Regions from separate parts of the Homo sapiens genome. Here all the other regions are linked to region 6. The links are contacts of gene promoters, found by promoter capture Hi-C in blood cells and fetal thymus (Javierre and others, 2016). All regions are on one chromosome and are shown on one strand. The core of a region is centred on a gene start or on the middle of the fragment in contact, and the rest is flanking DNA. Distances in the headings are between cores, read along the strand shown.

The links. Contacts are between HindIII fragments. The CHiCAGO score rates a contact against its expected background, and 5 or more counts as called.
Region 1: a contact is called between a fragment that was not itself captured here and the fragment with the promoter of FSD2 in region 6, in 15 of 17 cell types (total B cells, naive B cells, naive CD8 T cells and 12 more). The highest score is 28.1, in total B cells.
Region 2: a fragment that was not itself captured here is called in contact with the fragment with the promoter of FSD2 in region 6 in 4 of 17 cell types (naive B cells, total B cells, naive CD8 T cells and 1 more); the score reaches 9.7 in naive B cells.
Region 3: a contact is called between the fragment with the promoter of CPEB1 here and the fragment with the promoter of FSD2 in region 6, in 4 of 17 cell types (naive CD8 T cells, total CD8 T cells, activated CD4 T cells and 1 more). The highest score is 9.3, in naive CD8 T cells.
Region 4: a fragment that was not itself captured here is called in contact with the fragment with the promoter of FSD2 in region 6 in 3 of 17 cell types (naive CD8 T cells, activated CD4 T cells and total CD4 T cells); the score reaches 8.7 in naive CD8 T cells.
Region 5: a fragment that was not itself captured here is called in contact with the fragment with the promoter of FSD2 in region 6 in 7 of 17 cell types (naive CD8 T cells, naive CD4 T cells, total CD8 T cells and 4 more); the score reaches 13.3 in naive CD8 T cells.

What each region holds. Positions count from the first base shown.
Region 1 is chr15:82,987,467-82,992,454 of GRCh38, forward strand. It overlaps RAMAC (RNA guanine-7 methyltransferase activating subunit), which reads left to right. Exons shown (of 4, transcript NM_031452.4): 3 at 1,544-1,722; 4 at 2,415-3,591. The coding sequence starts at 1,553. The coding sequence ends at 2,601. It also overlaps a transcript of C15orf40 not described here. Among named protein-coding and RNA genes, the nearest start is that of RAMAC, 3.8 kb to the left of the region's middle. The HindIII fragment of the contact is 3,353 bases long and covers 1-3,279 here.
Region 2 is chr15:82,945,550-82,950,340 of GRCh38, forward strand. The region is part of intron 1 of HOMER2 (homer scaffold protein 2); the gene reads right to left. Among named protein-coding and RNA genes, the nearest start is that of HOMER2, 4.8 kb to the right of the region's middle. The HindIII fragment of the contact is 7,495 bases long and covers 1-4,791 here.
Region 3 is chr15:82,645,535-82,650,521 of GRCh38, forward strand. It overlaps CPEB1 (cytoplasmic polyadenylation element binding protein 1), which reads right to left and starts at 1,829. Exons shown (of 13, transcript NM_001365242.1): 1 at 1,603-1,829. It overlaps CPEB1-AS1 (CPEB1 antisense RNA 1), which reads left to right and starts at 2,236. Exons shown (of 4, transcript NR_046096.1): 1 at 2,236-3,274; 2 at 4,237-4,407; 3 at 4,495-4,612. RefSeq lists a silencer at 2,049-2,618. The HindIII fragment of the contact is 5,175 bases long and covers 517-4,987 here.
Region 4 is chr15:82,627,401-82,632,203 of GRCh38, forward strand. It overlaps CPEB1 (cytoplasmic polyadenylation element binding protein 1), which reads right to left. Exons shown (of 13, transcript NM_001365242.1): 2 at 964-1,156. The coding sequence starts at 1,059. Among named protein-coding and RNA genes, the nearest start is that of CPEB1, 18 kb to the right of the region's middle. The HindIII fragment of the contact is 7,050 bases long and covers 1-4,803 here.
Region 5 is chr15:82,669,956-82,674,240 of GRCh38, forward strand. All of the region lies in intron 14 of AP3B2 (adaptor related protein complex 3 subunit beta 2), which reads right to left. All of the region lies in intron 3 of CPEB1-AS1 (CPEB1 antisense RNA 1), which reads left to right. Among named protein-coding and RNA genes, the nearest start is that of CPEB1-AS1, 24 kb to the left of the region's middle. The HindIII fragment of the contact is 8,602 bases long and covers 1-4,285 here.
Region 6 is chr15:82,804,209-82,808,560 of GRCh38, forward strand. FSD2 (fibronectin type III and SPRY domain containing 2) reads right to left here and starts at 1,861. Exons shown (of 13, transcript NM_001007122.4): 1 at 1,758-1,861. RefSeq lists an enhancer at 2,145-2,244. The HindIII fragment of the contact is 1,284 bases long and covers 1,195-2,478 here.

The sequences.
Region 1 (4,988 bases), core at 353-2,852, 180 kb after region 6:
TGGGTGGGGAGTCGTGGGAGAACATATGAGAACATAAAAATGGAGTAGCACCTTTTCCTTGCCTTATGATTTTTACTGCCCATCTGGATTAGGTATGGGTCATCTTTTTAGTGATTTCTGTGATCCCACTAGAATTCTAGACATGATTTTTAATTAGCTGAATTTATTTAAAACTCATTCCTTGGATTTGAGAATTTGATATAGTTTGCCAATCCCAGACACATTGAAAGTCTGATATTTGGTATTTGATAAAGCATACTAAGAGCAATAGCCTGAAAGATAAGAGTGTCAGGCTGGGCGCGGTGGCTTATGCCTGTTATCCCAGTACTTTGGGAGGCTGAGGCAGGCAGATCACCTGAGGTCAGGAGTTCAAGATCAGCCTGGCCAACATGATGAAACCCTGTCTCTACTAAAAATACAAAAATTAGCGAGCGGGCGTGCACCTGTAATCCCAGCTATTCGGGAGGCAGAGACAGGAGAATCACTTGAATTCGAGAGGCAGAGATTGCAGTGAGCCGAGATCGCGCCATTGCACTCTAGCCTGGGCAACAAGAGTGAAACTCCGTCTCAAAAAAAAAAAAAAAAAAAGGCTGGGCGCAGTGGCTCATACCTGTAATCCCAGGACTTTGGGAGGCCAAAGCGGGCGGATTATGAGGTCAGGAGTTCAAGACCCGCCTGGCCAACAAAACCCCATCTCTACTAAAAATGCAAAAATTAGCTGGGTGTGGTGGCGCGTGCCTGTAATCCCAGCTACTTGGGAGGCTGAGGCAGGAGAATTGCTTGAACCTGGGAGGCAGAGGTTGCAGTGTGCTGAGATCGCGCCATTGCACTCCAACTCTGGGTGACAGAGCAAGACTCCGTCTGGGGGAAAAGGAAAAAGAAAAAATCTACATATTGTTTCTTGCAATGCAACAATAATTTCCGTTTAATTTTGTTGGGGTTAAAGTAGGTAGTATAAATGTTACAAATATTTGCATATGTTTGGAGGAAAGGCAGACTAATGAAGAAGTTATCACAATAGCTTCCATTGTCACATCTTTTTGTCCCAAACCTTTTATTGGAAGTTAATAAAGTAAGAAAAATAATTCGGGCCAGGCACAGTGGCTCATGCCTGTAATCCCAGCACTTTGGGAAGCCAAGGCAGGAGGATCACCGAAGCCCAAGACTTCCAGCCTAGGCAACATGGCGAGATCCCGTCTCTTCAAAAAATACGAAAATTAGCCGGGTGTGGGTGGCATGCACCTGTAGTTCCAGCAACTTGGGAGGCTGAGGTGGGAGGATTGTTTGAGCCAGGGAAGTCAAGGCTGCAGTGACCCGAGGTTGTGCCGCTGTGCTCCAGCCTGGGTGACAAAGTGAGAGACCCTGTCTCAAAAAAAAAAAAAAAATGTTGAATTCAATATCTAAAATATGACATGTCTGAAAGCACACAAAGACTTCCATGAATACCCCGCCTAAAAATTGCTTACTTCTTGGTTTTTCATTATTTGGAGAGAGTGTTAATTTTTAAATTTTTTTTAATGGAAATGTCTTTAAAATTGTACAGATTTTCAGAATGACTGACACTGCCGAAGCTGTTCCAAAGTTTGAAGAGATGTTTGCTAGTAGATTCACAGAAAATGACAAGGAGTATCAGGAATACCTGAAACGCCCTCCTGAGTCTCCTCCAATTGTTGAGGAATGGAATAGCAGAGCTGGTGGGAACCAAAGAAACAGAGGCAATCGGTGTGTATTCAAAAGAATAAATGCAGATAGTTGATCTGGCAGAGGATAGCTTTAATCTGCTAGACTGGAAGGCCAGTGAGGGCAGGGACCAGTGTTTTTGGTATGGCATACCTAGTACCTAATAACAGTACCTGGTACATCATTTCTGATAAATATTTGCTTTAATATTTTTTCAGCACCATGTATTTTTTCCTTGCTGTTCAAGTGCGTGTGTTTTTTTGTTTTTAGATGTTTTTTCTGTAGACTAATATTTTCAATGCAAATCTACTTTAAAAACCTAGAGTTTTCTACAGCTTGTTCAATTCCATAAAGAAAACATTGTTTCGATTTTACTTTAGGAAGAAGTTTACAAATGGAAGTTACTTTTACTTAATAATTCAAAATAGTCAAAGGAATAAATTACCATACCATTTTTGTACAATTGAATAGATTTCACTTTAATTTGGAACTATTCTATTGGTTATATAGTCTGCCTATGTCTCTGTAAAGTGTACCTAGTATAATACTGGAAGAATGATTTCAATCTTAGGAAAGTTTTGAATAACTGGCACTATAACATTCTATTGTGAAAAATGTTTTTTAGTCTTATTTATTGTGTATTAGAATGAGAAACCAGAAGCACTGCTATGGGTTTGTCATATGTTTTTTTTAACAAGGGAAGTTTAAAGATCTTTTTTGTTTTATTGTTGTAGGTTGCAAGACAACAGACAGTTCAGAGGCAGGGACAACAGATGGGGGTGGCCAAGTGACAATCGATCCAATCAGTGGCATGGACGATCCTGGGGTAACAACTACCCGCAACACAGACAAGAACCTTACTATCCCCAGCAATATGGACATTATGGTTACAACCAGCGGCCTCCTTACGGTTACTACTGATAGAAATGTTGGCAGCTTTTAGTAAAAGCATTTACTCTGTTACCATGAGAAAAGTTTGGGTGTCTTCTGTTGGTCATAGTTTTACATCTGATTTTACAGAATGGATTATTGATTTTTTGGAAGTTGAGACTTTAAAAAAAATAGATCTTACTTGCGAAATGCGATGGTTGCTGGGAATACCTGAAACTGTGGATTATATTGCTTGACTTCTACCTCAGAATCTTCTTTGTTTCATGACTTAATAGTGCTTTAAGTTTGGTATATTATTTGACCTCTAGGAATTCTTTGTTTTACACAGAAATAAAAATTTTAAAATAGAAAATGCTTTTACTTTGTAAGGTAAGAGAGTATCCATATGCTTAGATGTGCTCGTTTCTAAAATTCTAGAGGTTGATATAATCAGCTCATGAATGCACAGCTATGCTTTTTGTGATAGATTGTACATAACATCAGCAGTTGAAAGGTAAAACAATTGCTTTTTTTTTTTTTTGCATTTGTTAAGTGACTATGGTACTTTGTGATTCCTTAATCTATAGATGAGTCAGCTCCACACTTGAGTCTCTTTTTAGAGGGAAATCAGTAATAAAGCTGTAAAATAAGGAAGGAATCATTGTCAGTTTGTGTCTTGATCTGGTGGTGGTTGGGATAAGGGTACACATCATTTTATACAAACACTAAAGCTTTTTGCTAACAACATAGCAGGTCAAAATTCACACATAAGAAAGTTTAACTCTGTACTGTTCACACTTTTTAATCCTGTAAATAATGCTGCATTTTGATGGTTCTTACTTTTTTGGTATTTAATGTGGGCTGATTTTACAATGTTATATTCACTTCCAGATGCATACCTCTGCTGCTTTCTCTCCTATAAATAGTGATGCTATAAACTTCCTTTCACAGAGATCATTCTATTTCAAATCACTTTAATGATTATTACAATGATTTCATTCAAATAAAAATTTTAAAATATTTAAGCATCTTCACTCCCAAGTTCTGGCAGTTAGCCCATTTATTAATATGGTGAAATGAGATTTTTGGGTTTTTTTATGCTGTCCTTCATATCTGTTGAAAAGGGCTTATTTGGTTTAACAGTAACATTAAGAGTGCAAATTTCAACATAGGTCAAAGGAATTAACAGGCACCTTCCTGACTTTATTAGAGTGACAAAAAAATATATATATTTAAAAAGGCGTCTTCCAGCCAGGCATGGTGGCTCATGCCTGTAGTCCCAGCACTTTGGGAGGCTGTGGGCGGATCACTTGGGGTCAGGAGTTCGAGACCAGCCTGACCAACATGATGAGACCCCGTCTCTACTAAAAATACAAAAATTAGCCGGGTGTGGTGGCACATGCCTGTAATCCCAGCTACTCGGGAGGCTGAGGCAGGACAATTGTTTGAAGCCCAGAGGCGGAAGTTGCAGTGAGCCAAGATCGTGCCACTGCACTCCAGCCTGGGCAACAGAGCAAGACTTCATCTCATAAAAAAAACGGGGGCATCTTCGTAAACCTATTTTTAATGCCTTCTCTCTTAGCACCCCACTCTAGGCCCTCGAGGTTGACTTCTCCAGGTACTTCATGCTCTCCATCTACCTCTCCCTTTTATTCTCCCTTCCTGAAGAGCCATCCTCTCGGGTAACTGTTTTATTGGAAATGACCTAATAAGTCGGGCAGTCACACTAAGATGCAAATACAATTTTAATAGTAAGGGTTTTCCCTGTAACCTCCCTAATTACATCAGTAGGCAAGAAGCCAGTGCTGTTATATAAAGATAGGATTTGATACTACAGATATTTAGTCTAGATAGTAATGTCCTGACTACACCCCAGAATCTTCTCTGAAAGCAGAAGTGTTATCAAAAATATCACCTGGTTGGGTATGGTGGCTCACACCTGTTATCCCAGCACTCTGGGAGGCCGAGGCGGGAAGATCACTTGAAGCCAGGAGTTCGAGGCCAGCCTGGGCAATGTAGCAAGATCCTGTCTCTACAGAAAATTTTAAAATTAGCTGGGTGTGGTGGTGCACGCCTGTAGTCCTAGCTACTCAGGAGGCTGAGGCAGGAGGCTCCCTTGAGTCCGGGAAGAGTTCAAGACTACAGTGAGCTAGGATCATGGCACTGTACTCCAGTTTGGGCTAGATAGATGCTGTCTCTTAAAAGTAATGATTTATAGGCTGGGCACGGTGGCTCACAGTTGTAATCGCAGCACTTTGGGGGGCTGAGATGGGCAGATCACCCCAGGTGAGGAGTTCGAGACCAGCCTGGCCAATATGGTGAAATCCTGTCTCTATTAAAAATACGAAAATTAGCCAGGCATGGTGGCGGATGCCTGTAATCCCAGTTACTCGGGAGACTGAGTTAAGAGAATCACTTGAACCTGGGAGGTGGAGGTG
Region 2 (4,791 bases), core at 1,359-3,858, 140 kb after region 6:
GTGGGATGACAAGTAATTTTCACTTCCTTCTTTATGCTGTTATTTTTCAGTATAAACATGTAGTTTTTTTATAATTAGAAAAAAGCAAAGCTATTTTCCTTTTGTTAAAAAAAAAAGAAAAAGAAAAAAAGTGGTAGATGGCCGGGCGCGGTGGCTGACGCCTGTAATCCCAACATTTTGGGAGGCCAAGGCGGGCAAATCACGAGGTCAGGAGATCGAGACCATCCTGGCTAACAAGGTGAAATCCCATCTCTACTAAAAATACAAAAAATTAGCCGGGTGTGGTGGCAGGCGCCTGTAGTCCCAGCTACTCGGGAGGCTAAGGTAGGAGAATCGCTTGAACCCAAGAGGCGGAGGTTGCAGTGAGCCGAAATCGCACCACTGCACTCCAGCATGGGCAACAGAGTGAGACTCTGTCTCAAAAACATTAAAAAAAAAAAGTGGTAGATGATAAAGGGTAAAGACAAAACAAGGGTAGGGCCATCACACTGAGCTAGAAATAAAGGTAATGGATGAAGTCTGATAAATCTGCTAAGGGTCACCACACATTTAACTCTAAGTTCCTCAGGAGCCATTCCAGAAAAGAAACCTAATAATTTACACAAATCACTGAGTCTATTCGACAAAAATAAACCATGTGCTCTGCTCAGCGTCCCGCTTCAGCAGAATTACTTGGCCCTGATATTTCCAGCGAACTGTGCGAGCAGCAAACATGCCTTTATTCTTTCCTAACAACACTTGGACCAGAAACTTCAGGGCAGTTTCCAACGAGAATGATGGCATCTTCCCAAAGTAAAAGTCAACCCAAAGACTGGTCTGGCCATTGCTACCTCCCTGACCTCTTCACCTTCGTGCTCTCTCTGGCTCACTCTGCTCCAGCCATACTAGCTTCCTTACTATTTCTTGAACAAGCCAGGCATGCCCCTGCCTCAGGGCCTTTACACCTGCTGTTCGCACTATTCACACTGCCAGGAACACTTCCCTCAGACACCTCCATGGCTCACTCTCCTCCTTCTTTCAGCTCTTTAATGCCTCCTTCTCAGTGAAGTCTTCTAACTGGATCCCCATCTAAAATCTCTATCCTACTGCAACATCCTCTAGTCCCCTTCCTTATCCTATTGCTATGTAATAAACTGTGTATTTTATTAAAAAAACAAAAACAAAGAAAGTCAACCAAAAGAGAATATTCATTCACACCTATTTACACACTCATTCAATATCTACTTATTTAGTGCCTACTCCATTCCAAATTCTGTGTATTCTTCCAGTTCGGATACTAAGAGGGATGGCTGTGTAACCATCAGTGTACCACAGCATCTGTCCTCCCCACAATGTACCACGGCATCTTTCCTCAATTCCCCAAATAGATGGGCACCCCTCCACCACCACCTGTGATACCCAAAGGACTATAACATTGTGTTTACTCTCACAGCATTTCACATATAAAGCTGGTACTTGTGTATGTAGTTTATCTCCCTTTTCAAAATATAAGCTCCCCAAGGGCAGGAACTAACTAGTGGGTCTGCTCATCTCTGGATCCCTACAGCACTTGCCAACTGCCTTACCAATGTACAGACTGAAGGAATATTAGAAAGTGAAGTTTAACAAACCCACAGGACCAAGAGAAGACAAACTCACCTCAACATATCTGAAAGACTGTATCTATTGCAGTCAACTCAAACCCCAAAGAACAGCCCTATAATTTGTTGGAACTACAGAGTCTGGTGTGATTCAGAGGGAATGGAAAATTAAAGAAGGAATGAATGAACATCAAAAGAAAGTAAATCGGTATAGAGTACCAAAAGGCAGCCTGAGGTGTTAGATAACCAAGATTGTGGCACCTGTACATGGCAAGGTAATCTTGGCTGAACAAAATAAGTGAGTGTAAAATGAAGCCAAACAGTAATACAGTAGATCTTATTTGTAAACACTGACAAAATCAGCTAAAAGTCACAACAGTAGACAAGCTGGCTTTTCTGTTAGTCTTTTGCAGGAGAGTAAAAAGGTAATTTACAACTCCAGTACTCAAATGACAGCAGACGGCCCGAAAATTAACCCACATCACAATGAAAGCTAAATGGCTTGCTTTAATGTTAAAAGAAAGCTGCATCCAAATGTGATCTCTTTCTCTCTTGGCCCTTGCAACTCCCAATTAAGCAAGCTATATAAAAGTTAACCCAAAAATTATCACAGCTTCCAGGCCAGCATCCAAGCAAGGCTGCCCACAACATTCAAGCATTAACTCAATTAAAAATTATTTACTGGAGGCCTATTTGGTGCCAGGCACTGTGCTAGGTGTTGGAATACACTGGTGAAAAAGATAAGGTCCTATCCTTTTGGGATGCTACTGGGGGAAGACGGATTATAAATAAGTAAATAACACCTGCATGCTTACTGGCATGCTGTGGTGAGCAATTATAGGAAACAAAGGTAGGGCTGGGGCCCAGCACTTTGGGAGGCTGAGGTGGGCAGATCATTTGAGGCCAAGGGTTCAAGACCAGCCAGGCCAACATGGTAAAACCCCATCTCTACTAAAAATACAAAAGAATTAGCTGGGTGTGGCCGGGCATGGTGGCTGATGCCTGTAATCCCAGCACTTTGGGAGGCCGGGGCAGGCGAATCATGAGGTCAGGAGATTGAGATCATCCTGGCTAACACGATGAAACCCCGTCTCTACTAAAAATACAAAAAATTAGCTGGGCGTGGTGGCGGGCGCCTGTAGTCCCAGCTATTCGGGAGGCTGAGGCAGGAGAATGGCGTGAACCCGGGAGGCGGAGCTTGCAGTGAGCCAAGATCGCGCCACTGCACTCCAGCCTGGGCGACAGACAGAGACTCCATCTCAAAAAAAAAAAAAAAAAAAAGAATTAGCTGGGTGTGATGGCACATGCCTATAATACCAGCTACTCAGGAAGCTGAGGCATGAGAATCGCTTGAACCTGGGAGGCAGAGGTTGCAGTGAGCAGAGACCGTGCCACTGCACTCCTGCCTGGGTGACAGAGGGAGACTCTGTCTCAACAAAAGAAAAAAGAAAAGGGGCTGGGTTAGATAGTTCTGGAGGTGGGTGCTCTAGACAGGATGGCAGGAAAGACCCTGAAGGGGTGACCCTGAGGCCAAAGTCTGAAAGGAAAGAGGAAGGTAAGAGAATTCCAGGCAGGGGAAACAGCAAGTGCAAGGATCTCAGGTAAGGCAAGAAAAGGAAAGGAGATCTATGTTAGCAGAACACAGTGAGGGGCACAGCAGCATGGCAGGGGGAGCTGCGCCCAGCGCCTGGTCAGTGGGAGGTATTTAAAAAGGGGAATGACATGATCTGATTTATGATTTTAAAAGCTGGTCACTTAGGCTTCTGTGTGAAAAATGGACTGCAGACAACCCAGAGTGGATACTGGGGGGCCTGTTAGGAAAGAGGTGATGGTGGCTAGAGTGGGAACTATGGCTATGGGGTGAGGTGAATGCACTCCAGATATATCCCGGAAGTAGAATGCACAGGACAAACTGATAGCCTGCATGTGAGAGGTTGGGAAGAGGACTCAAACATGACTCTTGGCAAATGAGTGCATGGTAGGGCCACTGACTTGGATGGGGAAGACGGAAGGCAGGTGAGAGCTGGAAGGCATATCAAGAGCTCCATGTATTGACGAGAGTCAGAAGCTCCAAGAAAGATCTGAGCTAGAAATTAAAGTGTGGGCATCATGGGCATATCGATGGCATTTGAAGCCATGGGAGGGTGGGGAGGAGTTGCAGGTGGGACAGTATTACCTAGGAAGACAGTGTGGACAGAGAAAAGGAACCAGGACCAGTCCCTGGGCAACCCCATGATTAGGAGTAAGAAGAAAAGCAGGAAACAGTGGGGCCAGAGGAGCTGAGAGGGGTGTTGTTTTGAGGAGAGGGAGTGGTCATTTGTTAGGAATGCTGCTGAGAGAGGTGAAGTGAGGTGAGGCTGAGATCTGGCAACCCCCTGGTCACCCAAGACCCTGGCAGTTTTGGTGCAGAGGTGAGGCAGAAGCAAGACTGTAGAGTATGGAGAGTGAACAAATGGCAGGAGAAAGTGAATGGAGCCAGTGGGTTTGGATGTATCTTCTGAGGTGTTTTCAGGTGAAGAAGAGCAAAGAAGTGAAACAGGAGAGGGATGTAGGAGGGAGGGAGATCTCCTTTTTAAGATGAGAGCAACTAAAGCTATGCTATCCAATATGGTGGCCACTAGCTACATGTGGCTATTTAAATTTAGATTAAGTTAAAAATTCAGGTCCTCAGTCTCAACAACCACATTTCAAGTGTCCAATAACCACATGTGCTGGTGGCTGCCACGCAGATACAGAACATTTCCAGCAGTGCAGAAAGTTCTGTTGGTCAGATGTATGCTCCTATACTGATGGAGAAGACCCCGGAGAGAAAGGTGGTTAGGAAGGAGAGACAATCTCTGAAAAGATGGGAGGAGGAAGGGATGGAATGGAGGCTACCCCAGAAGAAGGGGCCCCTAGTAGGAAGAGATGAGGGACAGGTCATCCAGCACAGCAGGCAGGTAGGAGAAGGTAGCAGCAGCTGCATACTAGACTAGGTGGTGGCAAAATGAAGACATTCCCTTGGTCAAAGGTGCCTATCTTGTCAATTGAAAGGGAAGCCACGGGGTGTGCCTAGGAAGGGGAGAGGTCTGGAAAGGGGAATAGGTATGAAATAGTTGCCTTAGGGAGTAAGAACACAAACTCACTGGAGAGGCCACACTTAACACAGAACACTTCGCAGAAGAGAAGTGGAAAATGGTAGTGAACATTTGAGGGAGGAGAAGCATCTCAA
Region 3 (4,987 bases), core at 579-3,078, 160 kb before region 6:
CAGGCCACCCAAAGTTTAAATCGCCGTGACAAAAAATTTAAAAAGCGAAACTCAGCCAGGCAAGGGGGCTCACGCCTGTAATTCCAGCCCTTTGGGAGGCCGAGGTGGGCGGATCACGAGGTCAGGAGTTCGAGACCATCCTGGCTAACATGCTGAAACCCCATCTCTACTAAAAATACAAAAATCAGCCGCGCGTGGTGGCACGAGCTTGTAATCCTAGCTACACAGGAGGCTGAGGCAGGAGAATCGCTTGAACCCGGGAGGCGGAGGCTGCAGTGAGCCAAGATCGCGAGACTGCATTCCAGCCTGGGTGACAGGGCAAGACTCCCTCTCAAAATAAATAAATAAATAAATAAATATTAAAAAATAAAAAGCCAAACTCCTACAGCAACGTGCTCTGGGAATACAGTTCAGCTCCAAGCCAGCTCAATGGGGACAAATAAAAGACCAGTGATGAGTCCCCAAAACACCGTCCCCAGGGTTTTCCGACAGCCAGCAGCCCCATTGAGCTCCACAAGCTTTTCTAACTATGCAAAAAACCAACCAGGAAAACAATCACCAACTTGAGGTTTCCAAGGTTGGGTCCTGTTTGAATTTATTTTTATTTTTTAACCCAGCATGTGTCCCTAGACTCAAAGGGAACATGAGCCTCAGGGTGCAAACTGTCCTTAGCAGACACTCTTCCCGCTAGCAAGGGACCGCACCGTCACCTGAGGGGCAGCCAAGAGGCGGGCGGTGCACCTGTGCCTTCCAGAATAGGAACCCCACCCACTTGCCCCTCTTCCCCACCAACGACACAGCCCAGTAGTTGACTCAGGTGCCAGGAGAGAGCGCGGGGAGGCTGGGCGGTAGCCAGGGAGACCAAGGGAAGCGGTTGCCAGAGAAATGCGGCGTCAGTCAGGGCCGGGGCTGCAGGCGCGGGGCGGGGGAGGAGAGACGCGGCCTCCTCCCAGGCGGGCCTGGCGGGAGGCACCCCGGCTTCTAAGAGCGAATTCGGCTCCCGACTCTCTTCCCCCAGCTGAGAGCACGGTGCAAGGGGCCAGGGCTGCAGGGAGCAAAGTGCCCCCGAAAAATAAGCGCGCGCCCACGAAAGCGCCCAAGAGCCCAGGCGTCTGCCTGGCTTTTCTCGGTCACGGGGTCAACGCGGGGCCGCTCACAGAGCCTTCTGGTCTCCCTGGGTCCTCTAGGAATGAGGCAGCAAAGCCTCGGTCGACTCGACCGCTGAGGAACCCATGACATGAAAAAGCCTCGGGGAATGACGCCGGGTGGGACACCCCAAGGTGAGGACCCCTTTGTGGGTGAGTCCCCCCACACTCAGGTGACTCCAGGCGGGCACAGGCCCGCCCAACCGCTCGTCATCACGGGGGGCGACTCGTCCAGGGCCCCAGCCGCTGCTCCGCCAAACCTGAGGCCGCCCCTGAGTCTGGGCACCTGGCCTCGTCCGGCACTGAGGAGAATGACCAGAACGCCAGGCCACATGCACCCACTCGCCAGGCTGAGGGTCCGAACAGCACAGCCCAGAGTGGGCTCGGGTCGCTCCCCGCCTACGCCACCTCCGCGGCCTGCAAGCCTAACCCTCTCCCGCCCATGACCAGGACCCACCTCAATGCCGCCAGCCCGGCGGGTCTCCCGGGCACGAAGCCCCGCCAGTCTTCCGCCCTCGCGCCACACTACCTGGCCAGCCCCGCCCCCGAGACTCCCTCTCCGGCGCCAAGCGAAGGTGTGAAGCCACGTGACCTGCCCAGGATTGGGAAGCCGCACGAGGGGCTTGAGCCCTCCACCTTAAAGGTGCCGCGACCGCCGCCGTCGTGGGGCTCTCCACAGAGCACGGGGTCTACGCCGTCAGCAGCCCCGCCCCGTCCCGCCCGGGCGCCCCCACCGCGCGCCGGGTGCTAAAGAGACCCGCAGGGGGCGTGAGCTTCCAGCGCCAGCGGCTTCGGGTCTCCCGTGCGACGGCAGTGTGAGAAAGAAACGTTCCGGGCGCCGGTGCTCCTTTATGTCCGGTCAGCTCCCGTCTGGACAGACGCTCGAGGCCGCCTGGAGGCCGCAGTGCGGCTCGGAGGCCCCACCGGCCGCCCCCGCAGGGCTGCGGCGCCTTTAAGCCCAAAGGCCCTGAGTCACGAGGAGGCTCCCTGCCCCCCTCGCCCTCCACCCCTCCACGAGGCCCCACGCCCGCGGGCACGTGACCGCGCCCCGCCCGGGACTCGCCCGCACGGGGCGGGGGATGGGGGTACCGCGGCGCCGGACCCGGCTGCGCGCGGACCGTTAGCTACTGCGGCCGGGACGCGGCCCCGCCCAGGCGAGCGGCGGGTGGCTCTTACCAGCGGGAACGCCATGGGGCCGGTGTGGCCCTGCGGGGCTGACGGGCTGACCGGCCAGCCGGCGGGCGAGAGACGCGCACGCACGTGGGCACTATTTTTGCAGCGGGCCGCGCGCAGCCCCGCACCCCGGCAGCTTATGAAGCTCCTACGAGCCGCTCCTCGGAGCCGCCCCCCGGCCGGATGCGGAGCACCTGTGTCGGCCCCGCCCGGGCCCTCGCCTCCGCCCCCTCGCGCCCCGCCCCTCCTAGCAGGCCGAGCCGAGGAGGGCTCCGCCGCCCACCCGGAACCCGGCGGGGACTGCCGCCGCTGCTAGCCACAGCTGCCCCCTGGGGGGCCAGAGACCTAAGCCTGAGCGCGCCATCACCTAAGTGACCCTTGCCGAGTCACTGTCTGCCCTGGGCCTCAGTTTCCCTCTTAACGAAAGAGGGCACGATTTACAAGCCCCTGCGAGCGGCGGCGATCGCTTCGTCAGTAGAGCCTCGTGTCCGCGCTCCTTCTCTTCCAGTGATCTCTCCAGGGCGAGAGCCTGCCCTGGCATCCTTGGTCGGAACTGTAGCCCCTGGGCTCCAGGAGGCGCACTCACTTTAGACCCTCTGCTCCGTGCGCTGCAGAGGGGGCCGCGAGAGTCAGGAAGTTCCAGAAAGTTCCAAAGACATCACTGGTCCTCTTTGGACCGGAGTTCTCCGGAGAAACCGCTTCCGGCGCTCCTGACACACTGAGATAGAAAGTTTCACAGAAATAGGGCAAGGGATAGGGCGAGGGCTCCAGGGCAGGCGTCCTAGGGCACCTGGCGCAGGGGCGGACCGGAAACCCCAGGCAAACGCAGAGTCGGAGATGGCATTCCAGGCGGAAGATCAAGCAAAGGCAGAGAGGGAGGACGGCACCGAGCGGCTCCCTCTGACCAGGACTGAGGATGATGCGACCTGATACCGCCGGAGGGAAGCCTGGGCCCGGTTTGTAAGGGGCCTTTATTCTGCAGACAGCAGGAAAACTATTAGAGAATTGTAAAAGGGGTTGGCAGTTGTCGGGTCTGTTTTAAGGTGTTGCTGGAGACATAGAAGAGGTTGGACAGAAAAGGGGGAAAACAAGGGACTGGAGTGGGGAGGAAAGGGACCAGAGTTTATTGAACATTGCTAAGTGTTTTACATGTGTCATGTTATCATGATACTATTTAATAAGCACTAACTATGCTCCGGTCCTCTCCTGGCACTTAGGAAGGATGGTGCTGCCGTCTTCCTGGGCTTGATCTAATGGCTAAGGGGAGAGGGACAGGTAACTGTCAGTTTCTGCCTGAGGTGATGGAGAAAGAGGAAGCTGATATTATAGTCTAGTGTTTCAGAAGGATTAAGGGGGGAAGGGTGGTGAGCATAAGAGTAGAAGTCCACGAGGGGGTGAGTGACAGTGGGAGTTGGCCAGTCTCCATCCACTTGGTCTACTTACAGGAGCTTCTTTGGGTTGCTGAGGTCATGGGCAGAAAGGGTGATGACTACAGGGACAAGGCAGGAGCAACTTCGCTGGGACCCCTACCTCTTGAGCCATGCTTTCTCCAGGAGTAGCCTACTTGAGTCTTGTCCTGGCCCACAAGCAGCGTAGGATGGCTGCTTCTGATAGGGTGGCACACCCAGATGCCTACAGCACAGGAGCCAAGTGAGGGTGGGCGACAGCACTGAAGGCCCAAGGCACACCCAAAAGGGCTGTTAGCTGGTGGGCACCATGTAGAAACGAGGTCCCAGCCCAGTCATCTTTCAAGAAAAGCTGGAAGTACTTTTTTAAGTGAAATCTTGAATGTGAATTTTAATGTTGGTTATTAATTCAAATGAAAAGAGCCAAGCCCAGCATGTCCAGGGGCCCCATGCAGCTCACCGGCTGCCAGTTTGTGATCCCTGACATCGTTTCCTCCTCTCTGACCCAAAAGCTGAGCAAGATAAGAACCTGAAACCCAGAATAGTGCCCAAGGGAGCGGGTGTCTGGAGGCCCTGTCATATTTCAAAACTGTCAACCATAAGAAAATGAAGGCATCTTTCAAGAGACTTGGAACAGAAACTTCTGCTGCCTAAAATCTCTCTCCCTAAACTTTCTGTTGCAGGTAATAATAATAGCTCGTCTTCACTGACCACTTACTGTGCGCGTGGGAAAGTTTTGAGTGCTTTACCTATGTTATCTCATTTTGCAGATGAGACTGAAGCTCAAAGAAGTTAAGTAACTTGCCAAAAGACTCCCAGCTAAAAGTGTGAGAGCAAAGACTCAAACCAAGGCAGTCTTCTGGTTTCAGAGCCTGAAGTCTTAACCAGGTGAGAATAAAACTTCCAGCATGCTTATGTGTGTGCTTATCTGTGAATGACCCCAGAGCTGACTGCAGATGTTGAGAGAAGAGGTAACTTTGACCAAATGCAGTCATGACCTCAGGTGTGGGCAAGTCCTTGTTCCCTACCTGGACTTGGCTAGGCCTGCAGGTCATACAGGAAGAACAGTCCCTCTGAAGGTGACCATAATCCACAGGGCAGGGTGTGGAAAGTGACAGAGGTGAATTTATTAAATGACTTGGTCAAGTCCCCACAGCTGGTCACTGGCAGAAGCAGCAGAAACAAATAGGCAGCATTATCTATTCTCCCAGTCAACAAACAGCCTTTGAGCCCAGCTATGCCTGGCACTGTCTCTGCAGTCAA
Region 4 (4,803 bases), core at 1,979-4,478, 180 kb before region 6:
CTACACTCCTTTATGACCCCCTTTCTCTCCACATTACGAATTAGATAAAGTAGGAAGGACTTAAGTATCTTCTTTATACATTAAAACACTTAATGAGTGTTTACTATGAGCTAAGTACTCGGAACTGTAAGAAAAAAATACCAAAATATTCTTGGCCAATTTGTGGAAAAATTTCCACAAAGGATACTATTAAGGAAGAGAATCAAGCACCAGGATTTAAGGCAAAAAGGGGTAGGCTAACTCTACTAGTTTTCTACAAATATAGTCAGGTTTATGATTAGGATTGCCTTTATCTATAAAGCTGCTAACCTCTGGGCCTTAAGGGAAAAGGTAAACACCAGCTGCCAGTCTTTTGGTTGTACAACAAGAAGGTCTGGACAAGAACTCTTTTTCAGAATTGGTTCAATTGATATTTTGTTCCTGGAGTCAGAAAGTACCTTGCCAGTAAAGGACTTTTTTTAATATATTAAAACACTTAATGAGTGTTTATGATGAACAAGGTACTCAGAAGTTCTTTTAATACTGGACAATGCCCCTGGCCACCCAGAATGCCATGAATTCAACAACAAAGAGGTATACATGCCCCCAAATACAACATCTCTAAGTCAGCCTCCAGATCAAGGGGTCATAAAGACCTTTAAGGCTCATTACACATGCTACTCTACAGAAAGGATTGTTAATGCTGTGGAAGAGAACCCCAATAGAGAGAAGGTCATGAAAGTCTAGAAGAATTACACCAGTGACAATGCCATCATTGTTACAGAAAAATCCATGAAAGCCATCATGCCCAAAATAATAAATTCCTGCTTAAAAAAACTGTTTCCAGATGTTGTACATGACTTCACAGATTTACCACAGAGCCAATACAGGAAATCATGAAAGAAACTGTAGATATGACAAAAAAAGGTTGGGAGTGAAGATTTCCAAGACATGGACCTTGGAGAAATCCAAGAGTTAACATACCAGAGGAATTAGCAGAAGACAATCTGATAGAGATGAGTGCTCCAAACCAGTGCCAGACATGGAAGACGATGTTGAAGTAGCAATGCCAGAAAACATATTGACATTAGATGATCTGGCAAAAGGGTTCCGATTATTCAAGGCTGCTTTTGACTTCTTTTACAATACAGACCCTTCTATTACACAGGCACTGAAACTAACGCAAATGGTGGAATTAGGATTGGTACCACATAGAAACATTTTTACAGAAATGAAAAAGCAAAAAGTCAGACAGAAATTATTTCTGTAAAGTTACACTGACTGTGCCTGCTTCTCCTTACATCCGCTCCACATCCTTCCACCTTTGCCACCCCTGAGAGAGCAAGACCAATCAATCCTTCCTCTTCCTCGGCCTGCTCAATGTGAAAACAGTAAATATGAAGATCTTTATGATTCACTTCCACTTAATGAACAGTAAATATATTTTCTCTTATGATTTTCTAGTAACATTTTTTCTCTAGCCTACTTTATCGTAAGAATACGGTATAAAATACATGTAACATACAAAACATGTGATCAACTGTTTATGTTATCGGTAAGGCTTCCGGTCAACAGCAGGCTATTAGTCAAGTTTTGGGGGAGTCAAAGTTATACATAGATATTTGACTGTGGGGGTTGGTCCTCCTAACTCCCACACTGTCCAAGAGTCAACTGGACTAAAAACCAATGAACTGTACATTAAAGGTGAACTTTAGGGTATGTAGATTTTATGTCAATACAGCTGTTTAAAAATTTTCATTCTGCCATTTATTGGCTGTGTGATATCACAGTTACTTAACCTCTATCCCTCAGTTTCCCCATTTGTGAAATGGAAAAAGGATACCAACTTTTTGATGACATATGTAAAGCATTTTGCATGGCATACAGTAGCTGCTAATTTGTATCTGCAAACACTAATTATTGAATACAAGAGAGGTAAGTACCAACAGTGGTAAAACCACCCAAACTGATTAAGTTATACAACTCTATGTGGTCATTATTAGTACATACAACTTTATTAACTGGCATGAGAAGATGGGTAAGACATTACCGAATGAAAAAAGAACTCCTATATATATATATAAAAAATCATGAACCCTTACACAAAAACTATTCTTTTGGTATTCCCTATCTCGGTAAATAACACCACCATCCACCAGATGCCCAAAGCAGAAATGTAGGTACCATTCTTCACTCCGGTCTCCCTCACTCTCCACAGCCAATGCCCAACATAAGAAGCAATGAAATATTGGTTGACAGATTGAGTTTTTTAAGGGGAGCCTGCCTCATCAGTTCTATTATCCTCAATTATCTTGCGGAAAACAAAAACAGACCAAGTAATGAAACTGGCACTTAATATCTCATAAGCTGGTCACATCAAAACAAAACAAGAAGAGGCCCAATGTCATTTTGTTTGGCCTACTAAAATCCAAGTGAGCATGAGAATGACCAAGAGCATTTACAGTTTTACCAACTCTGCAGGATGACCTTAAAGGGACAAACTTGAGCCTCACGTCAGCCTCAAGTTCTTGAAGATTGGTACCCTCTGCAAACTGTGAAGACGACCAAAATACACAATCCTACAAGGTTGTTTTCCCAAGCTCTCTAGAGTGGTGCCATTGAGAACTGTTAAATCCAGTGACACACAAGGCCCTTTTCACAACTGTAGATTTCTAAGCTGATTCTCAATTTCAGGAAGGCAACTTCATGAAGGCTAAGATGCAAAGATTTATAACCTGCAGAGAGGAGGTCTCGCTGTGTTGCCCAGGCTGAACTTGAAACTCCTGGGCTCAAGTGCTCCTCCCACCTTGGCCTCCTGAGTAGCTGAGACTACAGGCACGTGCCATTGCCTAGCACAATCTGCATTATCTTAAGGCTACATGCTTCATTCTTCACTGCCTAATAAACATTAGCCGACTGCCTGCTCTCTATAGTGAGCACCCCAAGGGGCAGCAGATTAGACACAGACTAAACCAAAATAAAGTTTTGAAGTCTGGAAAAGAACTTTTGGCAGGCAGGAGCTCAAAACCAGCCTGGGCAACATGGCGAAACCCTGTTTCTACAAAAAATACAAAACATTAGACAGGTATGGTGGTACATGCCTGTAGTCCCAGCTACTCAGGAAGCTGAGGTAGGAGGAATGCTTGAACCCAGGAGGCAGAGGTTGCAGTGAGCAGAGATTGTGCCACCACACTCCAGCATGGGTGACAGAGCAAGACCCTGTCTCAAAAAAAAAAAGAAAGAAAAAGAACTAAGACCCGATCCTGTAAACATCCACAACACAGACTACAACGTGCTGTAAATGTACATTGTCCTCCAAGCCAAGGTGGCCTGGAGGGACAGAATGTGCCTGGAAATGGGGGTAAAGAGGAAGTTCTAAAGAACACAAGAGAGTAGAGAGGCATTATCAAAAGTGGTCCAGTGTGGTACAGCATTAGGTATAGGAGAGAAAATTGGAAAAGCCTCATATGCCAAATTAAGGAGTCAGCATTGTCTTTCAATACACAAAATTGTGTCTTTTCAATACACAAAAATTAACCTAGCTTTTAATTACTGTAATAAAAGTACTATATATATATGGACTACATGGATTCCAGATCCTGGCCACATCTAAAGGCAAGTAAATAACAAAGTGAGTCTTAGAAGGAGACCACCAGCAACTACATGACAGATAAGTGGCAGAAGGATTAGTGAGAAAGTACCACAGTAGTCTAGGGAACAGATGCAGACTTGGGAGTCTGGGAGAAAGGTATTCCTTAGGAGAGGAAGGAAATCTTACTATTTCAAGGAGTCTGAAAAAAAAATCTAATTTAGGAATGTGTCTGGTCACCCTGCCCCACTCCTAATCCTGTTAGGAACATACACACCTTCCCAAATCAAGGCAAATGATATCTGACATGCCTCCCTCCCCTTCTCTCACATACATCAAGCCAGAGCTCTAGCTTAAGATGACATTATAATAAAAGTGAATGAGGTGTTCAATGTATATTCCAAACTGTTTCATCTTATAATTACCAATGTTTGCCTTAACCAATTTGGAAGGAAAAAAAAAAAATCAAAGCCAGGACTGTCAGATGGCGAACAGATCTACTACTCTCCTTTGTGTACAATAGGGATAAAAGTAATACTATCTCATAAGGCTTTTTGTGAATTAATGCACATAAAGTACTTAGCATAGGGCCTGACATGTAATTATGTGCTGAACCAACGAATACTGTCTATCAGTCGTATCATTATTATTATTCAGAGGCCACCACAGGGATCCTTGAGGAAGGATCTATTGGCTCATTAAGTGAACCAAAGACCTATGGCAACTATTTCTCTGAAGACTCCAGGCCCTTCTATTCCTGGTACCCCCTAACTCTTCCTCTTAATCATTTGACTTAAAATGCTTAATTAAAAGGCAAGAGATATGATTCAAATAGACCTAAGGGCTGAATCCACTACAGGTTCAGTATCTCTCATCAGAAATGCTGAGATGACCAAGAAGTGTTTCAGATTTGGATTTTTTTTTTTTTGGAAGCTGGAACATTTGCATATACATAATGACCTATCTTAGGGATAGGGCCCAAGTCTAAACACAGAATTCATTTATTTTTTTCTCTTTTTTTTTTTTTTTTTGAGACGGAGTCTCGTTCTGTCGCCCAGGCTGGAGTGCAATGGTGTGATCTCGGCTCACTGCAAGCTCCGCCTCCCGGGTTCACAGGATTCTCTCGCCTCAGCCTCTGGAGTAGCTGGGACTACATACGCCCGCCACCACGCCCGGCTCATTTTTTTGTATTTTTAGTAGAGATGGGGTTTCACCACATTAGTCAGGATGGTCTT
Region 5 (4,285 bases), core at 574-3,073, 130 kb before region 6:
GCGTCACTGCAGTCCAGAGCCTGGGCAACAGAGTGAGAACTCCATCTCAAAAAAAAAAAAAAAAAAAAACCCATTGCACTCCAGCCTGGGCAACAAGAGCAAAACTCCGTCTCCAAAAAAAAAAAAAAAAAAAAAAATCAGTGGCTTTTTTTTTTTTGGCGGGGGGGGACGAAGATGAAGTCTCGCTCTTGTCCCCTAGGCTGGAGTGCAGTGGCGCGATCTTGGCTCACTGCAACCTCCGCCTCCCGGGTTCAAGCAATTCTCCTGCCTCAGCCTCCCAAGTAGCTGGGATTACAGGCACCCGCCACCACGCTCAGCTAATTTTTGTATTTTTAGTAGAGACAGGGTTTCGCCATGCTGGCCAGGCTGCTCTTGAACTCCTGACTTCAGGTGATCCACCAGCCTCGGCCTCCCAAGATGCTGGGATTACAGGCATGAGCCACCACGCCTGGCCGTGAATTCATTTTTGACAAAGGTATCAAGAACATACATTAGGGAAAGGAGAGTCTCTTCAATAAATGGCGCTGGGAAAACGGGATATCCACATGCAGAACAATAAAACCAGACCCCTATCTCTCACCATATGCAAAAATCAAATCATAGTGGATTAAAAACTTAAATCTAACACTTCAAACTATGAAACTAATAAAAGAAAACATTAGAGAAATTCTCCAGGACATTGTACTGGGCAAAGATTTCTTGAGTGATACCCCACAAGCACGGGCAACCAAAGCAAAAGTAGACAAATGGGATCACATCAAGTTACAAAGGTTCTGCACAGCAAAGGAATCAACAAAGAGACAAGCCACAGAATAGGAGGAAAAAATTTGCAAACTACCCATCTGACAAGGGATTAATAACCAGAATACGTAAGGAGATCAAATAACTCAATAGGAAAAAAAAATTCAATAATCCAATTTAAAAATGGGCAAAAGAGCTGAATAGACATTTCTCAAAAGAAGACATACAGATAGCAAACACGTATATGAAAAGGTGATCAACATCATTGAGCATCAGAGAAATGCAAATCAAAACTACAATGAAAGGCCAGGCACGGGTGGCTCATGCCTGTAATCCCAGTACTTTGGGAGGCTGAGGCAGGCGGATCACCTGAGATCAGGAGTTGAGACCAGCCTGACCAACACAGCGAAACCCCATCTTTACTAAAAGTACAGAAATTAACGGGGCGTGGTGACGCACGCCTGTAGTCCCAGCTACTCAGGAGGCTGAGGCAGGAGAATCACTTGAACCACAGAGGCAGAGGTTGCAGTGAGCCAAGATCGCACCACTGCACACTCCAGCCTGGGTGACAGAGCAAGACTCCGTCTCAAAAAACAAAACAAAACAAAAAAAGATATATCATCTCACCCCAAGTAGGCTTATATCCAAAAGATAGGCAATAACAAATGCTGACAAGAACATGGAGAAAAGGCAACCCTTGTACACTGTTAGTGGAAATGTCTGGAGAACAGTTTGGAGGTTCCTTAAAAAACTAAACATAGGCCGGGCACGGTGGCTCACACCTGTAATCCCAGCACTTTGGGAGGCCGAGGTGGGTGGATCGCGAGGTCAAGAGATCAAGACCATCCTGGCCAACATGGTGAAACCCTGTCTCTACTAAAAATACAAAAAATTAGCTAGGCGTGGTGGCAGGCACCTGTAATCTCAGCTACTTGGGAGGCTGAGGCAGAAGAAGAATCACTTGCACCCAGGAGGCAGAGGTTGCAGTGAGGCAAGATCACGCCATTGCACTCCAGCCTGGGAAAAAAGAGTGAAACACCATCTCAAAAAAAAACACTACAAATAGGCCAGGTGCAGTGGCTCACGCCTGTAATCCCAGCACTTTGGGAGGCCGAGTCGGGCAGATCACTTGCGGCCAGGAGTTCAAGACCAGCCTGGCCAACATGGTGAAACCCCATCTCTACTAAAAATATGAAAATTAGCCAGACTTGGTGGCGGGCGCCTGTAATCCCAGCTACTCAGGAGGCTGAGGCAGGAGAATCGTTTGAACCTGGGAGGCGGAGGTTGCAGTGAGCTGAGATCATGCCATTGCACTCCAGCCTGGGTGACAGTGCAAGACTCCATCTCAAACAAACAAACAAAAACTAAAAATAGTGCTACCATATGATCCAGCAATCCCAATGCTATGTATATACCCAAAAGTAAGGAAATCAACATATTGAAGTTATATCTGCACACCTACGTTTATTGCAGCACTGTTCACCATAGCCAAGATTTGAAAGCAACTTAAGTGTCTATCAACAGACAAATAGATAAAGAAAATACGGTACATATGCACAATGCAGTACTATAAAAAAAGAATAAAAAAGAATGAGATCCTGTCATTTGCAACAACATGGATAGAACTAGAGGTCATTATTTTAAGTGAAATAAGCCAAGCACAGAAAAACAAACTTCACATGTTCTCACTTATTTGTGAGGGCTAAAAATTAAAAGAATTGAGCTCATGGAGTTGGAGAGTAGAATAATGGTTACCAGAGGCTGAGAAGGGTAGTGGGTGGGGGAAGTGGGGATAGTTAATGGGTACAAAATTATAGTTAGATAGAATGTGTAAGATCTAGTATTTGACAGCACAACAGGGTGACTACAGTCAACAATAATTTATTATACATTTATAAATAACTAAGAGAGTGTAATTTGATTGTTTGTAACACAAAAGATAAATGCTTGAGAGGATGGATACCCCATTCCCTGATGTGATTGTTATGCATTATATGCCTGTATCAAAATATCTCACATACCCCATAAATATATACACCTACTATGTACCCATAAAAATTAAAAAATAAAAAGAAGACGGTCTTGCTAGCAGACTGGCTCTAGAGACTTTCTCCCTTGTGGCTTTGGAGAAATTAAGCATCCGTGTTGGGAGGCCCCTATGGCAATGAGCTAAGGACGGCCTCTAGAAGGCAAGGGCAGCCCCCAGCTGACAGCCAGCAAGAAGCCAGGGCCACAATCCTACAACTGCAAGGAAGTGGATCGTGGCACCATGTGACTTGGAAGTGGACCTTTCCCCAGTACAGCCTCCAGATAAAAACTCAGCCTTGGCTGACACCTCAGTTGTAGCCTTGCATAAGATCCAACTAAGCCATACCTGAATTCTCGACCCATAGACACTGAGAAAATAAACGTGTGTTGTTTGAAGCCACCAAATTTATAGTAATTTATTATGTAGCAGAAAACTAATACAATTGATTTAAAAATGTGAAAGTAGAAAAAAATTTGGAGGAAATTCTTTTTAATTTTTATTTATTTTTGAGATGGATCTTGCTCTGTGGCCCAGGCTGGAGTGTGGTGGTACCATCTCAGCTCACTGTAACCTCCACCTCCTGGGTTCAAGCAATTCTCCTGCCACAGCCTCCCAAGTAGCTGAGATTTCAGCGCACCACCACACCCAGCTAATTTTTTTGTACTTTTAGTAGAGACAGGGTTTTGCCATGTTGGTCAGGCTGGTCTTGAATTCATGACCTCAAATGACCCACCCACCTTGGGCTCCCAAAGTGCTGGGATTACAGGTGTGAGCCACTGAACCCAGCCTGGAGAAAATTCTAAGTGAAAAGTTTAATTGAAATGTGAATGGGGAAAAAAAAGTATTAAATATGAAAGCATTGAAAAGAAGCAGAAAAGTTTAAAATATTGGACAATAGACAAAAGTACAACTTCTGAATGACTATATATAGGAATAAAAAATAAGGAAATATATAATTAATGGTGGTCTTCTAAATGGTGGACTTATTAATAGTTTAAACTTATAATTTTCTGAGTTTTCCAAATGTTCTATGATAAGCATGTATTACCTTTAGCATATTAAAAAAAGTTTACGTTTTTAAAAGCAATTCTGCAAAATTTGTCAGAATCTTCTATTCACTGTAAAGGCGGTCACATGGGAGGGTTGTAGATCCCACTGTGCCCCTGGCAGACCCTCCTGCCACACATCTCACCTGACACATAAAAGCAAACTAACCTGCTAGGCAGTTTCCCCAGGGTCTATATCCAGGTGGATGTAATAGCCACTTTGATTACCAACCCCCCCATCCCCCGCCACCTGCATGTTATGCCTTTGTGGCCTCTGGTCTAGTATCTGATTATCTGCTGATCAATAGCAGGGCAGAGGCCTCATCTTGGTCATTTCCTTGGCCTCATCCTGGGCCAGGATCTGGCATGCCGTGGGCCCATGTCCAAATTGGAGAGAATGACTGAGATTACTGTGGCCTTTTAGCTGGGCAGATTGCCACTCATGGTCCCAGGATGGGAAGCATCACTA
Region 6 (4,352 bases), core at 611-3,110:
GCACCAAGCAGAACAGCCTCATAACCACGCACAGACATCAGCTATGAGATCATTCCTCTCCCAGGGGGCCCAGGCAGAGATATGGTATTCTAGGGATGGAGGTCCCTTGGAGAGCATCTAATTCAATTTCCTGATTTTATTCAGCAGGTCATGGATGTTTAAAAAAAATTCCTGATTTTAGGATGGCAAAACTGAGATCTTGTGAGGATAAAGGACTTGCTTATAGCCAATTTTCTTTTACAAAAATGTATCTGGGCTACTCTGTATTTAGCCCTGTGCTTGAATCCAAGCTTTTCACCTGACACACAACCAGTCAGGTGAAGAGCTTGGATTCAAACCCAGGTTTCCATTAAATCACACCATCTACAGACAGAGGAGCAGTTCACTAAAATAATGCTTACATTCCCATGTGCTACCCAAAGGGAAATAGCCAGGATTCTGTATGACCAATAAATCATCATGAGAAATTATTTCAACCAGAAGCTGGAATGTGAAACACCAAGTTGAACTGTCAGAAGACTGGAAAACACTTAGTGCAAATACAGATAAGAACACATGCTTTCAAGCTGGCACTTGCCCTTCGAACACACAACACAAAGTGGTCTCAACACAAACTGGCTCAGTGTCAAAGTAGGAATTTTGCAACACACCCTACAGTTAACAGTCACTTTTCCCCTCAACACCTAGACTCTTTCTTAACAAAATCAGGATTTGGGGAGAAAGGAAAGTTGACAATAAACTGTCATTTTATAAATGGTGAAACTAAAGCTTAGAGAAGTAAAGCAATTAGTCATAGTCCATTATGAATGTCTTTGCTGGATACCCTTTCCTCTATGCCAAGGGAAGCAGTTAAAAAAAATAAAAAAGATGTTTGTCTAAGGCTTATATGGGAGGTGTATCCCTGTGCATTACTTAGAAAAGTCCCCCAATAATTTTTTTTTTTTTTTTTTTTTAGAGACAGGTTCTTGCTATGTTGCCCAGACTGGTCTTGAACTCCTGGGCTCATGCAATCTGCCACCTCACTTGGCTTGTTTATTAACCTTTTATGGATCATGGGCATATCTACTGAATCTACTGAAACCTGTGAATTCTCTTCCCAGAAGTGATTCCATAAGGGCAGGAACATAACTTTGCCTATAATTTTAGCTCTTCCATGCAGCCCTTGGCAATTCCTGAGCCACAGCAGTGAAAGAAAGCTTGCCTTAAAGTGTTACAGTGATATGAAATGATTCAAATCAGCTTTGCAGACACTGCCCGAACCTGAAAACTTTCTATAGGAGGAGGCTGTATGCATAACAAGTGAAAAATAATTACGATGCTGTTTTTTAGTATTTGAATCAATGCATGAAGTTATTATTTTTCAGCATGTACACACAGATTAAATAAAATGTATTTACAACACAATAGTATAGCCAGATGATATTCAACATCTATATTTCCAAACTGTTCTACCAAATGGTTCTAACTAATGGGTCCCAGCACTACAGATATCCTAAAGACACATTATAAGAATCACCAGCCCCTGTCTGCCTTCATCAGAGCCTCTCACATCCTGTCCCAACATCATGTTCAGTTAATGCGAATTCTTGCTTTAAGAAGGCACAGAAAACATTTACACTATTTATTGTAATTTAAACATCTGCAATTTACCATGATATCTCTTCCCACCTACAGGAAAGATATTGCATTAATATTGCAGCATTGAGTTTCTAATAATACAATTTGCATTGGAAGAATATGACTACCCCAAAACTTGCCTGCTAAGCGTCCATAAATGCTTCCTTTAACTCAGAGGACCTGGAGTTCTGCTAGAAAATTGAATCTGTGTTCAGCAGGCTTTCCTTCCTAGTGACCTCTGCATGCCCCACAGGCTACCCCTGCCTATTTTACACCAGAGTTCTGCAAGTGGGGCACCAAAGCTGGATGGTAACATGAGCTGGCTGCAGCCACAAATAGCAACAGGCCTGCCATGAGTGAAGGTCCAAATATAGACCTGCTGTGGCTGAGTTGCCACTTCTTACTACTCAAGTGTCACCAGGAGAGGTCACATGCCGTGCTCTGAGTTACTTTCTGTGCTGTGAGGGGTTTTAGACTTGTGGCTCTACCATGGGTCTCAGATGGCTGGTCATGTGGAGAGGGCTGGGGACTGTCACGGCAAGACCAGGAAGAAGATTCCTTTTTTTTTTTTTTAAGTGAATGAGTTTCTAAAATTATATGCAAAATTATGTCTGTGTCCTTATAGAATCACTTCCGGGAAGAGAACTCACAGGTTTCAATAGATTCTCAGAGGTGCTCATGAACCATACAAGGTTAAAAAACATTTTGGGGGCACTTTTCTAATCAAAGCACAGGACACACTTCCCATATAAGCCTTAAGCAAACATTATTATTTTTTTTTTTTACTTGCCATGGTATGGCATAGAAATGGGACTATCCAGCCAATACATTCCTTATGGACTATGATTGACTATTTCTCTAAGCTTTAGTTTAATAATTTATAAAATGACAATTTAGTGTTAATGTTCTTTTCTTCCAAAATTCTGACTCTGTTAAGAAGTTGAAAGAGTCTAGGTGTTGAGGAAAAAAGTGAGTGTTAACTGTGGGTGTGTTGCAAAATTCCTACTTTGATGCTGAGCCCACAGACCAGCATAACAGTATAATCTCTCTCTCCTCTCTCTCTCTCACATGCACGCACGCACACACACACACACACACACACAGTGTAATAGTCAGAGTTGTCCAGAGAAACAGAACCAATAGAATGTATACATATATGGAAACAGATTTATCATAAGGAATTGACTCATGTAATTATGAAGACCAAAAAGTCCCAAGATCTGCAGTTAGTAAGCGGAAGATCCAGGAGAGCCAATGGTGTGGTTCTAGTCCAAAGGCCAGCAGGCTCAAGACCCTGGAGAGCCAATGTTTCCATTTGAGTTGGAAGGCAGGAAAAAAACCCATATTCCCACTTGAAGGCAGTTAGGCAGGAAGAATTCCCTCTTATTCAAGCTTTTGTTCTATTCAGACCTTCAATCGATTGGATGAGGCCCACTCACATGAGGGAGGGCAACCAGTTTTACTCAGTCTACTAACTCAAAGGTTAATCTCATCCAGAAACACCATCACACACACACACCCAGAATAATGTCTGACTAAACACCTGGTGACCCAATCAAGTTGACACATTAAAATTAACCATCATACATATATATACATATGCTATAGACAGTTTATATTCCCCTAAAATTCCCATGTTGAAACCAAATCCCCAATGTGATGGTATTTGGAAATGTGGCCTTTGGGAGGTGATTAGGTCATGAAGGCAAGCCCTCATGAATAAAATTAGTGCCATTACATTGGGGGTCCCAGAGAGCTCTTCCATGTGAAGATGCAGTAAGAATACAGGTATCTACGAACCAAGAAGCAGCCCTTCCTTACCAGACACTGAATCTGCTGGTGCTTTAATCTTGGACTTTCCAGCCTCCAGAACCATGAGAAATAAATGTTTGTTGTTTACAAGCCACCCACTCAATGGTATTCTGTTATAGCAGCCTGAATGGACTAAGACATATATTAATATATAGAGAGAGGATAATTTTATTTTTTCTTTTCTTTTTTTTTTGAGGCAGAGTCTCACTGTTTCGCCCAGGCTGGAATGCTGTGGTGCAATCTCGGCTCACTGTAACCTCTGCCTCCTGGATTCAAGCAATTCTGATGCCTCAGCCTCCTGAGTAGTTGGGATTATAGGGCATGCACCACCACGCCCGGCTAACTTTTCTTTTTCTCTCTCTTTTTTTTTTTTTTTTTGGTATTTTTAGTAGAGACGGGGTTTGGCCATTTTGGCCAGGCTGGTCTCGAACTCCTGACTTCAACTGATCCGCCCACCTCGGCCTCCAAAAGTGCTGGGATTACAGGTGTTAGTCACTGCACCCAGCCACCCACGACAATTTTATAATTAGAAAGATTGACAGTTTCCGCTTGAAAAACCAAATAGATAAGAAAACTAACAGAAATAACACAGTATAAAGCAGATAGTAAAAAGATATAATGTGAGGAATATACAAGAAAGATATTTAAAACAGACTGTTAAAAATCATAAGTAACTCATATTAGTTAAAATAGTATATTAAAATAGGGGAAAATCAATCACTTCAGCTAAAAGTTTATCTCTCCAAGAAGACTGAGTGACTGAGTCCCAGGGCCCAATCCCCAACCCTCACACCGGCAGCAGGCATAAAAGGGGAGGGACCTTCAGACAAAGGCACCTTTCCATCTTCAAGTTGCATTCCACAGAGGTTCCTAGATTTCTTGAGGTCATTTTCAAGGCAGAGAGATGCCCTAACTAGAGCTTT